3 separate regions of the Homo sapiens genome follow, and all the other regions are linked to region 3. Evidence: promoter capture Hi-C in 16 types of primary human blood cells and fetal thymus (Javierre and others, 2016). All regions are on one chromosome and are shown on one strand. The core of a region is centred on a gene start or on the middle of the fragment in contact, and the rest is flanking DNA. Distances in the headings are between cores, read along the strand shown.

Evidence for each region. Contacts are between HindIII fragments. The CHiCAGO score rates a contact against its expected background, and 5 or more counts as called.
Region 1: a contact is called between the fragment with the promoter of PDPN here and the fragment with the promoter of PRDM2 in region 3, in 3 of 17 cell types (naive B cells, total B cells and monocytes). The highest score is 6.5, in naive B cells.
Region 2: a fragment that was not itself captured here is called in contact with the fragment with the promoter of PRDM2 in region 3 in 3 of 17 cell types (total CD4 T cells, activated CD4 T cells and total CD8 T cells); the score reaches 6.9 in total CD4 T cells.

What each region holds. Positions count from the first base shown.
Region 1 is chr1:13,582,229-13,585,551 of GRCh38, forward strand. PDPN (podoplanin) reads left to right here and starts at 1,604. Exons shown (of 6, transcript NM_006474.5): 1 at 1,604-1,872. The coding sequence starts at 1,806. RefSeq lists an enhancer at 1,507-2,045. The HindIII fragment of the contact is 6,524 bases long and covers 1-3,323 here.
Region 2 is chr1:13,810,657-13,814,148 of GRCh38, forward strand. The region is part of intron 8 of PRDM2 (PR/SET domain 2); the gene reads left to right. Among named protein-coding and RNA genes, the nearest start is that of PRDM2, 110 kb to the left of the region's middle. RefSeq lists a silencer at 723-772 and an enhancer at 3,220-3,269. The HindIII fragment of the contact is 3,211 bases long and covers 141-3,351 here.
Region 3 is chr1:13,698,554-13,702,165 of GRCh38, forward strand. PRDM2 (PR/SET domain 2) reads left to right here and starts at 1,635. Exons shown (of 10, transcript NM_001393986.1): 1 at 1,635-1,747. RefSeq lists a silencer at 1,388-2,157. The HindIII fragment of the contact is 13,472 bases long and covers 1-3,612 here.

The sequences.
Region 1 (3,323 bases), core at 354-2,853, 120 kb before region 3:
CTTTCTTTCTGTGTGTGACCTTGGAGTTACACATAAGCAGAATAGATGTGCATCTATTCTCCATCTAACAGGCTCAACAGACAATGCACTATTCCTCCTGTCAACAGACATTATTGACACTAGAGTCATAAAATGCATCTCCAAGATGGGGAAGTCAGTTCAAGAAAGAGTATCTGTATCACGAGTTTTCTCTTTACATTTCCAACTCCTTGGCTCTAGGGGTGTTGCCGCTACCCCTCATCTTCTAGGTTCAGGTGCTCAGCTCCTGTTTGTAGCCCCAGGACAAGACGTTACCTGGGAGATCTTTAGAAATGCAGAATCTCTCCCTATCCCACAACAGAATTGCACCTGCATAACCAGTGCCCCAGGTAGATCTGGCTGAGAAGCTATGATGAAGGGCAAGGTTTGCCAAATGTTCATGGGGACAAGTTCTCCAGCGACACTGGTTTAAAATAGGAATTCCGAAAAGGTCTGATTAATGAGTTTGGGGTGGAACCCAGGAAACTGGGCATTTATTTAAAACAATCTCTCCTGTGATTCTTAGAAAGTAAATTTATAATGGGGAGGGGTCAAAGATAAGCATCTGAAAACAATTTTCACGCAATGTGGAGCTTTGAGACAGCGTTAGTCTTCAGGTTCTTTTGTTGAATGGAATTTGTGGCATCTGGGAGTGGAGCAGAGACCACTTCCCAAACTCCTGTTCTTATTTTTTTAAATTCCAGCAATTCAGAAGGAATTAAAGTAAAAGACGTAAGTTCTCTGGTTGCTGATATCTGGTACCTGAGATCAAGGCAAGATCGCTTAAACCAGTAAAGTGAGGATTATGGGAGCAAACTCAGGAATAAAGAGGGTGAACCAGGCCTGGAAGGGGACACAGGTTTGGCGACCAGACGGGTCACCGCTTGGCCCGGCCTAATCCAACTGCGCACGTCGGTGGGCCACAGCATCGCAGCGCTGGATCCCCGGGTCGGCAGAGGCGGATGGAGTTCAGCCTCTTTTTCAAAACTGCCAAAGCCACCCGGTCTGCCAAACTCCCCCACCAGCCAGCTCTGGGGCAGCCCCCCGGAGCCCGCCCGCTCCGGTCCCCGGGACAAGGGCGCAATTGACCAGCGCGGGCCGCCTCTGGCCCACCCAGATGACGGCCAACTTTTTTTGTTTTTAAGCCATCAAATTCAATATTTACAGGAAAAACCCCATGCTTGGTTCTAAAACTACTGGCCACTCAAGAAACAGTTTACTTCTCACTTCTGCCCATAACAAGAAAAACATAGACTTGTGCCTTACTCTTAAAAAAATAATAATAATAAATATAGGTTTTTTAAAATTTATATATAATTTTTAAAACCCCGTTTGTTGCATGTGGTCCCTTTCCCTCCTGTTGTTGAGCAGAATAAAAGCCCATTTTGCCAGGGCCCGCAGTCCTGGCGGCCCCCGCAGCTGCGGCCCTGTAACTTTAAACCTGGCCTGAGATCATCGTTTTGGCGCCGGCCAAACAGAGCCCGAGGGCGGGCCTAGCGCGCCCGGACGGAGACCACCTTGCGGCCGACCCCGCTCCCCCGCCTCCTCGGGAGAGATAAATGCTGACTCCGCTCGGAAAGTTCTCAACTGCAAAGTTTGCTGTCCGGCTGCCTAGGGTCTGGGAAGCTCGGGCACCCTCCCTCTCCGGGGCTCCTGCTCCCACCCCTCCGGCCCCCCCACCGTCGCGCTCCTCCAGGCTGGGCCTGTGGCCGCGGTGCTTTTTAATTTTCCCCCAGCTCAGAATCTTGCTGCTCGGCCCCCAGGAGAGCAACAACTCAACGGGAACGATGTGGAAGGTGTCAGCTCTGCTCTTCGTTTTGGGAAGCGCGTCGCTCTGGGTCCTGGCAGAAGGAGGTAAGACCCAGCGCAAGTGGCTTCCTGCCGTCGCTGATGGGGACGAGCGAGCAGAGACTTGCTGGAATGCCCGGGCCTGGTATTCGAGGTTGTCCAGGGGAGCGCGGGGGAGCTGAGGGTGTGTGCGTGTCAGGCGGCTGAGCGCCGGAGGAGGAGAGGCAGCGGCTTAGTCGGTGCCAGGTCCCAAAGACGCAGCTGCGCGGGTGTGCCGGGAGGAGCCCCGGAATCCACAGGCTGCGAGGTGGGCAGCACAGGGGGCCTCCCTCCGAGTCGGCAGCACCAGAGAGATCGGGTGGAAGGTTCACAGTAGGCAGCCCCGCTTGCTGGCAGCAGTGGCTGGGGTTTCCTTCCCATAGAGCGGTGTGTTGGAGGAATACGCACGCCTCGGGAGAAGCTGGCCTCGTAGAATCAGGAGGGACGTTCAGGAGGGCTTGGGCCAAGGGGAGGGTTCCCCGCCCTGCGGTGGCCCTGGTCCCCCTTGGGACTACCTAGTCTGGCGCCCTGCCTGTTGGACACACTCAGCACCCCGTCACTGGACTGGAAGAGGCCTCCTTTATCCTCTTTAGAGAGGATAGTGTGTGTGGAAAGGATCCAAGTGGAGGCTTCCGAGGAGTGTGAGTGCATGAGGATTGTTACGCGTTACGAACATTGAGGTTTAAGTGGGTTTGAGCCACGTGTTCATCTTGGGCAACAACATCAGTGGCTGAATGTCTGTTGGTGACTCCTTAGGCTTTAAATATTTTGTATCCCATGTTGGGGTGGGGGCGTCCACAGCTTCCATTACCCTTTGTCCTCTCCTGGAGCCTTACCTCTTCCCGCTGGGTTGCTGTGTTGGTGGTCTCCATTGACATCTGTCAACATTTTGTTTTCTTTTCTTGGGTTTTTATTTTTATATTTCCTCAATAGAACATATGTTCTGCAGGACGCAGCTACATCCAGCCATGATTCCCCACGGCCAAAACAATGCCTGGCACATAGTAGTTGCTCACTAAATGTTGGTTGAAGGAATTGTAACCTAACTCGTGATCTTTGGGGCTGGAGGTTGCTGAGTTATGCTGTGAAAAGTAAACATTTTCCAAAAATTGAGGATCAAGGTAGGCCTAGGCCCTGAGGAATACTTCTTGGAGAGGGAGCGGTTTGCAGGAGGGGTGCGCCTAACCTGGCCTCCTACAATGGTCCACACAGACAAAAATACCCAATCTCAGGGAAATGACAGAGTTCTGCTCTATGCTGTGCTGTCTGCTTCAAAGGGACTGAGCAACTCTTTTTATAGGGGCCGTGGGTTATTCGTAGCAGTCCTATCTTTGGAACTTCTCTTTCCACTGGAATATATACAGTTCTGTATTTTCAGTTACATTTCCTTTTTGGCGAGACAATGTGCAAATGACACCGTTTTGTGCTCACCAGGGCAAAGCAAGGGAGCGCCCTCACTTCAGCATCTCAGCCCTGCT
Region 2 (3,492 bases), core at 496-2,995, 110 kb after region 3:
GCTAATTTTTTGTATTTTTAGTAGAGACGGGGTTTCACTGTGTTAGCAAGGATGGTCTCGATCTCTTGACCTCGTGATCCGCCCGCCTCGGCCTCCCAAAGCACTGGGATTACAGGCGTGAGCCACCGCACCTGGCTGAAAGCTTGAGTTCTGTGTGACTTTGTGCTCCTTAGGGACAGGCTGCAGGCCCAGGCATGAATTTTAGTGCCTGCATGCAGTGAGCTTCTGTCAGAGTTTACAGATCTGGGCCAGGCGTGGTGGCTCATGCTTATAATCCCAGCACTTTGGGAGGCCGAGGTGGGTGGATCACCTGAGGTGAGGAGTTGAGACCAGCCTGGCCAACATGGTGAAACCCCGTCTCTACTAAAAATACAAAAATTAGCCGGGCATGGTGGCAGGTGCCTGTAGTCCCAGGTACTCAGGAGGCTGAGGCGGGAGAATCGCTTGAACCTGGGAGGTGGAGATTGCAGTGAGCCAAGAAAGCACGACTGCACTCCAGCCTGAGCGACAGAGTGAGACTCTGTCTCAAAAGAAAAAAAAAGAGTTTACAGATCAGTGGGCACTGGTTGTGGATGGCTCAGACTTTCTACAACGTTCTAGGCTGTTCTCTGGATTGTGAAGGTTAAGGGGCCTCTGGATAAGTGAGGCAATGGCTCGTTAACGCTTACTTGCACAGTGACCATGCCATCACCATAACCCACAGGAAGCATCCTGTGACACTGTGCTCGCCCCCTGCTGGCTGATGGGGCATCCCCTTGTAACTGGAGGCAGTGCTGGGAGCGCACAGGCTGTCCTTGTGCCAGAGACTCTGGGCTCTGCCATCCCTGGACAGGGGCCGGGCCTGGGGAGGGTGTGTGGTCCTGAGACCATGTTTCCTCCACCTGCAAACCAGGGGCATCCCTCATGGCTGCCTCCACCCACCCACCCAATATTTCCTGTACCAGGTCCTGTGCCTGGGGACACAGGGGATTCCACTGTCAGCAAGACTCAGTCCCTGCCCTCAAAGACATCCTCTTCTAGTGTTGAAGGAGTAAGCAACTCGACAGGCAAGGTGATTGCTGTGGGAAAAGCTGTGAGCAAAAGGCCCAGAAAGTCACAGAAAGACAGAAGGAAGACAGAAGGGAACTCCAAAGGCTATGGGAACAGGGCTGGGGTTGCCACTAAGGTGGGGAGGTCAGAGAAGGCCTCTTTCAGGAGACACTTAAGCTGAGACCCACAAGGTGGGAGGGAGCTGTGGGCAGAGGAGGGCAGGGCAGGGGAAAGCCAGGCAGGGAGCAACCAGGTAAGAAGAGCTTGGCCTGGCTGAGAGACAAGTGCACAGGGTGAACACAGAGTGCGTGAGGGGACTGGGAGGGTCGCAAGCAGGTGCACAGCACTCTGTGTGGGAAGGCTTGGGCCACTTTTGCACTGGGCAGTGATGTGGTCCAGTGTCGTGGTCATGTCCGGTGGTCCTTATAAAGGCCTCTCTTGTTGCTTAGTGGAGAATGGATTGGTGGTGGGGGGGAGGGTGCAGCGTCGAAGTGGGGACAGTGCAGTGGCAATTGCCACAGTCCCCGTGGAAGGTGTTGATGCCACAGGTTGTGCTGGGTGGTGGCAATGGGAGTGGAGAGAGGTGTGTGGACCTGGAGGCAGAATTAAGGGACCCGGAGATGGATCAGCTTTAGGGTAAGCACAGCGGGGGGTCTCACAGGCCCCATGATCACAGCACACTGCTCGATGGTGTGCCTGCTTCAAATGTGTGTGGTTTCTAGGTCTATGGCCAATCCGAAGCAGCAAAATGAATAGAAGAGGAAGAAAAGGGCTATTGGGCTTTAGTTGTAACAACAACACGTTTGGCAGTGCCATTTCCTGAGAAGAGTGACAAGAGTCCAGTGTGGCTGGAGCCTGGTAGGGGCGGGAGCAAGGTGGGACCCTAGCATGTCCCACTTTGCCGTGTTAAAGTGAGATGCTCATTAGACATCCAAGTGGAGGGGCCCGGCAGGCAGTGGGTGTGCGGGTCTGGAGCCCTGCCCAGGAGTTTGAGCCAAAAGTCTGACCGAAGTGTTGACACAGAAGTCTTACCTGACATTCAGTCTTTAAGGACCAGTCAGGACCCTGGCTCACCTCCTGCTCCGATGCTTCCTGGGGTCACACCCACTAGGAGCATCTCACATGTGCTGGATTCTTCCCAGAAAGCAAAGTGCTCTCAATCCTGGTCACCAAAATGCTTCCAGCCCTGCTCTCTGTTGGCAGGCTGGCAGGGACTGTCTCCATTTTACAGAGGGGGAAACCGAGGCTCCGAGGCCGAGCGACAGGGAGTGGCTTACCCTGGGCCATACAGTCAATGAGAATGAGGATTATTAGAGGCCACCCCCAGGTCTCCAGCGGCCATACTGCATCCTCCTGGGGTGATGACTTCTCCATATGAGTCCACCAACCGCAACTGCTGCAGTCACGACACTGTGCTGATACCTACTGGAGTGCCAGGATGCCCTGCACGGAGACCTTTCTCCAAAGTTAATCATTACTGTAACCCCAAACTGGTCTTCCCGATTTGCAGAAGATCAACCTGGAACTCAGACAGGTCCATGACTCACTGAGGTCACACAGCTAGTGGGTGGGAACCAAGAATCATGAGGCTCTGCGCTAACTGCTACTGTGCCCTGGAGAAGCACCCAATTCCGGAGCCTTGGTCCTCGGTATTTAACATCTCGGGGTTGGGGGCACTGTGCTCTCATGAGTTCTTTGACAGTGAAGCACTTCTTGATCAGGAAGGACAGTCCCCCACGACATCCTGTCCCCGTCCTAACAGGAAACACCCAATTAGTGACCTGGTGTTTCTTCAAAATGGTGGCCTAAGGAGCTGAAAGCCCAGGGCTCTGCTCGCCTGGGAAAGTCTCCATATCCGTCTGAGCCTCAGTTTTCTCATCCGTGAAAGGGGTATAAAAGCACTTGTTCTTCCTACCTCCTGGGCTGCTGGGAGGGTTCAGAGAGAAAACTGAGAAAGTCCTTGGGAGTCATGGAGGCCATGTTCATGTTGGCTGCCGTGGTCCTCCATTAGGCCAGGCAGTGGATGAGGGGTAGCAGAGGGGCCTCTGCCTTCAGGGGTTTTGCCCCCGACCTACTCGTTCCACCCAGATGGACGCCCTGAGCCGGGGAGGAGGCGCGCCCCCTGGTGGAGACGCTATGGTTGCTGCATCCGCAGGAGCCCAGGCGGAAGAGATGCTAAAGGGAGCGGAGACACACTGGCTGGCTAGAGAGGCCTGGGAGGTCGGGGTGTTATTTTTGTGTGATTGATCTGGCTTTTGGATACTTAACAGCAGAGAAAGGGAGAAGCTGGATACTGATGATGCAGGGCTTGTCTGTCTCCAAAGCTTCTGCTGGTCTTGCTACACCACTGTAGACATTTCCCTGGGAAGGGGGACATCGTAGGGAGGGGACCTGCTCTTTGCCAGCTCTGTTTCTTATTGCCCAACAGGACACAGGAGTCCATGTCTCCAGCAGCCTCCCAGC
Region 3 (3,612 bases), core at 385-2,884:
CTTCTCAAGGCCTTAATAAAATTTACTCTAATGAGGTGATCTTCATTTGTTTACTATAACCGACTCGATCATCAGCTATAGCCTCATTCTTTTTTTTTTTTTTTTTTTTGATACTGAGTCTCGCTCTGTCACCCAGGCTGGAGAGCAGTGGGGCATCTTGGCTCACTGCCAGCTCCGCCTCCCGGGTTCACGCCATTCTCCTGCCTCAGCCTCCGGAGTAGCTGGGACTACAGGCGCCCGCCACCACGCCTGGCTAATTTTTTGTATTTTTAGTAGAGACGGGGTTTCACTGTGTTAGCCAGGATGGTCTCGATCTCCTGACCTCGTGATCCACCCGCCTCGGCCTCCCAATGTGCTGGGATTACAGGCTGAGCCACCGCGCCCGGCCTAGCCTCATTCTTTTACAATAAGATAACATGATATATGTTGATACAACACGTTTTCTTTCTTTTTTGAGATGGAGTCTGTCTCTGTCGCCCAGGCTGGCGAGCAGTGGGGCGATCTTGGCTCACTGCAAGCTCCGTCTCCTGGGTTCACGCCATTCTCCTGCCTCAGCCTCCGGAGTAGCTGGGACTACAGGCACCCGCCACGTCGGCCGGCTAAATTTTTGTAGTTTTAGTAGAGACGGGGTTTCACCGTGTTAGCCAGGATGGTCTCGATCTCCTGACCTCGTGATCCACCTGCCTTGGCCTCCCAAAGTGCTGGGATTACAGGCGTGAGCCACTGCGCCCGGCCAACACGTTTTCTTAAGATTAAACCTGTTACATAAATGATCGTTCATAATTTTTGGAAGCACACCTGCCCTTAGTATCCTGTTTTTCCACTGGGTGCTTTCTGCAGATGGCCAACGTAGCCATCACATTCGGATTCTTCCTGACTTCATTCTCAGAGGATTACTTTATCTTGAAGTGCTGAAGGCTCCAGGCACCATCTATAACGACAACTCCCAACTTTCCAGCTCATCTCCAGCCTGTGCTTCTCCCCGACTCAACTCATTTTCAACCACGTGCTAGGCCTCCACCCTTGGATGTCGAAGAGCCATCTCCAGTTCCACCCAGTTCATCTTCATCAGAACATCTATGAGTCGTCGTCTCTGCAGTCCATTTGTTTGCCCGCTTGGGAACAGCAAGCTCCTTAAGGGCAGGACTACTACCGCGCTCTCAGAGGCGCTGCACTGGAACATCGCGGGCACAGGGCAGCGTTGGTCACTGCTCCTGGGTACTAGGGCAGCAAATAAACCCAGCAGCTGCGTCTGTCTGCCTGGAGTTGGATCTTTTTGGTATAGATCCAAACGTAGAAGTATAAGGTCTACGTTTATGTACTTGTCAGATATTTAATGACCTCCAACGATAGACATGCCCCCCCAACACCTCCTTCAGTCTTTTTGATTCTTTGAGAATCTTTGAACCACGCAGGATCCTAGCCCTAGGGTGCGGTCGGACTTGCCGCGACGCCAGCCGCCGGGGTTCCTTCCCGAGGCGCCGCCATGGGATCCGCGGTGACCTACGAGGGGCGGCTGGGTGGTGGCCATTGGGCGACGGCGCAGGGTCAAGGGCCGGGCTCTGGGATCGTGGGGAGACCGGGGGTCCCGGAGCCCCCCAGCCCCGCAGGCCACTGCCTCGCCGCCCGACGTCACTTCCGACTGGAGTCAAGATGGCGGCGGCGCGGCCGCGGGCGCCGGGGCCGGCGAAACAGCGGCGGCGGCGGCGGCCCTCGGTGCTCTGAGGCGCTGGCGCGGCGGGCGCGGGTAAGGAGTGGCGCGGGTGGGCGGCCTCTGGGCTCGCGCCGGGACGCTGGTCCCTCCCCCCGAGGAGCGCGGCGGCGACGGCGGCGGCGACACGCTGGGGACCCGGCGCCGCAGGGATGGCCGGGTCGGCGGACGCGCCCCCTCAGAGGTCCCGGGCGTGCCGGGGGCCCCGGGACGAGGCGCGGGCCTCCGGGTCGGTGGCCCCGCGGGTGGGTGGCGGCGCCGGGCTCCTCCTTGTCGGCCGTGGGGTCCCTGCGGCGAAGTTCGGGATTCGGTTTGTCGCCGTGAAGAGCCGCGCGCCCCGCGGGGGACGCGTGCGGGCTGCAGAGACTGGCCGGGTGCGGGCGGCGGTGGGGCCACCTGGGGCCCCACGTGGGGCCGGGCGCCGTCCCAATTGTCAAGCCGCTGTGCTTTTCTCTTTTGTGTTCCCACTGAGTGTGTCTTGCACATTTGCACTCCAAATTTGTTTTGTGTCTTGCGTCTTTGTGTTTCCCAAATAGTTTTTGTGTGGTTTTAACCTGGAGATTGTCTCCCTCAATGTTCCCATAGACCCACGGGTGTATGTGTGTGTGTGCGCACGCGCGCGTGTGTGTGTGTTACAGACGTGCAACTCTGTTACTAATTTTGCTAATAAAGCTATCAATGAACCTCTTTTGATGGTGGTAAGTGAGACATGAAGTAAACCTAACAGGTCAGTGTCATTCCCCAAACCTTCGTGGTTCTTTCGATCCACGCGTGAGCCACCGACCCTCCGGGCTTGTAGCTTTGTGTCGGGCTGTGAGCTGCGGCAAAGACCCCATAGTTAACCGGGAAGTCCTGATTTCCTTAACTACGCAGCTGAAATTTCCCCTAACAGAAATTTCGTGCTGGCCCCTCACTTTTCTTTTAGTGTTGTATTGAGATTTTGGGTGTATTTGAGACGTGGAACGTCTTTTGCTGAATCCCAGTAGGTCCTTAGATCCCTTTAACCAGACACTAGAAGAATCATTTTTACCCCAGAACTCGACTAAAATGTTTAAGTTTTTGTTTACTCCAGGTTTATTAAAAGTGACCGAAACTTTTAACAACAAATGGAACTCTTCAATGATTTCTTTTACAATGGTACACACTTCGCCTCGGTTTGATCAGTTGTGTCCAAGTATTAGAAAAATGTAGGCCTTTTAAAAAAAAACATGATAGGAAATTTACATATATTAAGGAGGAGGAACTGAGACACACTGTCATACGTTCTTTTTTAGTAGGGTTCTGTGTTTTTGAGATGGTCCAAACTGCCCCATCACTCTTGAGGCTTCCGGACTAACACTTATTGGCCAAATTTTTACATGTAGAATCTTAGTTTAGCCTTGAGATGACCTTTAAAGATCATTTTTATTAAACCCCCTCATTTCGAGCTATGGAAACAAATCAAAATTCACAGTGGAACTAAAACTCATTTACATTTTCTGTGATTCCAGGGCTCTTTTTACTCAACACATCTGTTTTGGTTTGATTGAAATAAGTTAATACATTTTAAGTGCTTAGAAAAGTGCCAGAACATGATAATACTGCTCAGTAAATGTTTGCTTTTGTTGATTCTGAAGGTGGTTTCTTTAATTGAAAGGTTGGTATGTTCAGGTTTGTTTTTTCCTTATTTTGTGGACAGGGCCTGAAACAGTACAGTTTAAATCTGTAAGAATGTATTAATTTTGTAAGTACAAAACATAACAAAAGATTCTCACTGTAGAAAATTGGAAAGTAGAGAAAAGCACAAAGAAGAAACAGAAATTGGGCATAACCTTCCCCTCTTCAGATAACCATTGTTAACGTTTGGCAGATCTTCCTGTCTCTCTTGGTGTGGATATGCGTATTTCTTTCCTTATTTTACA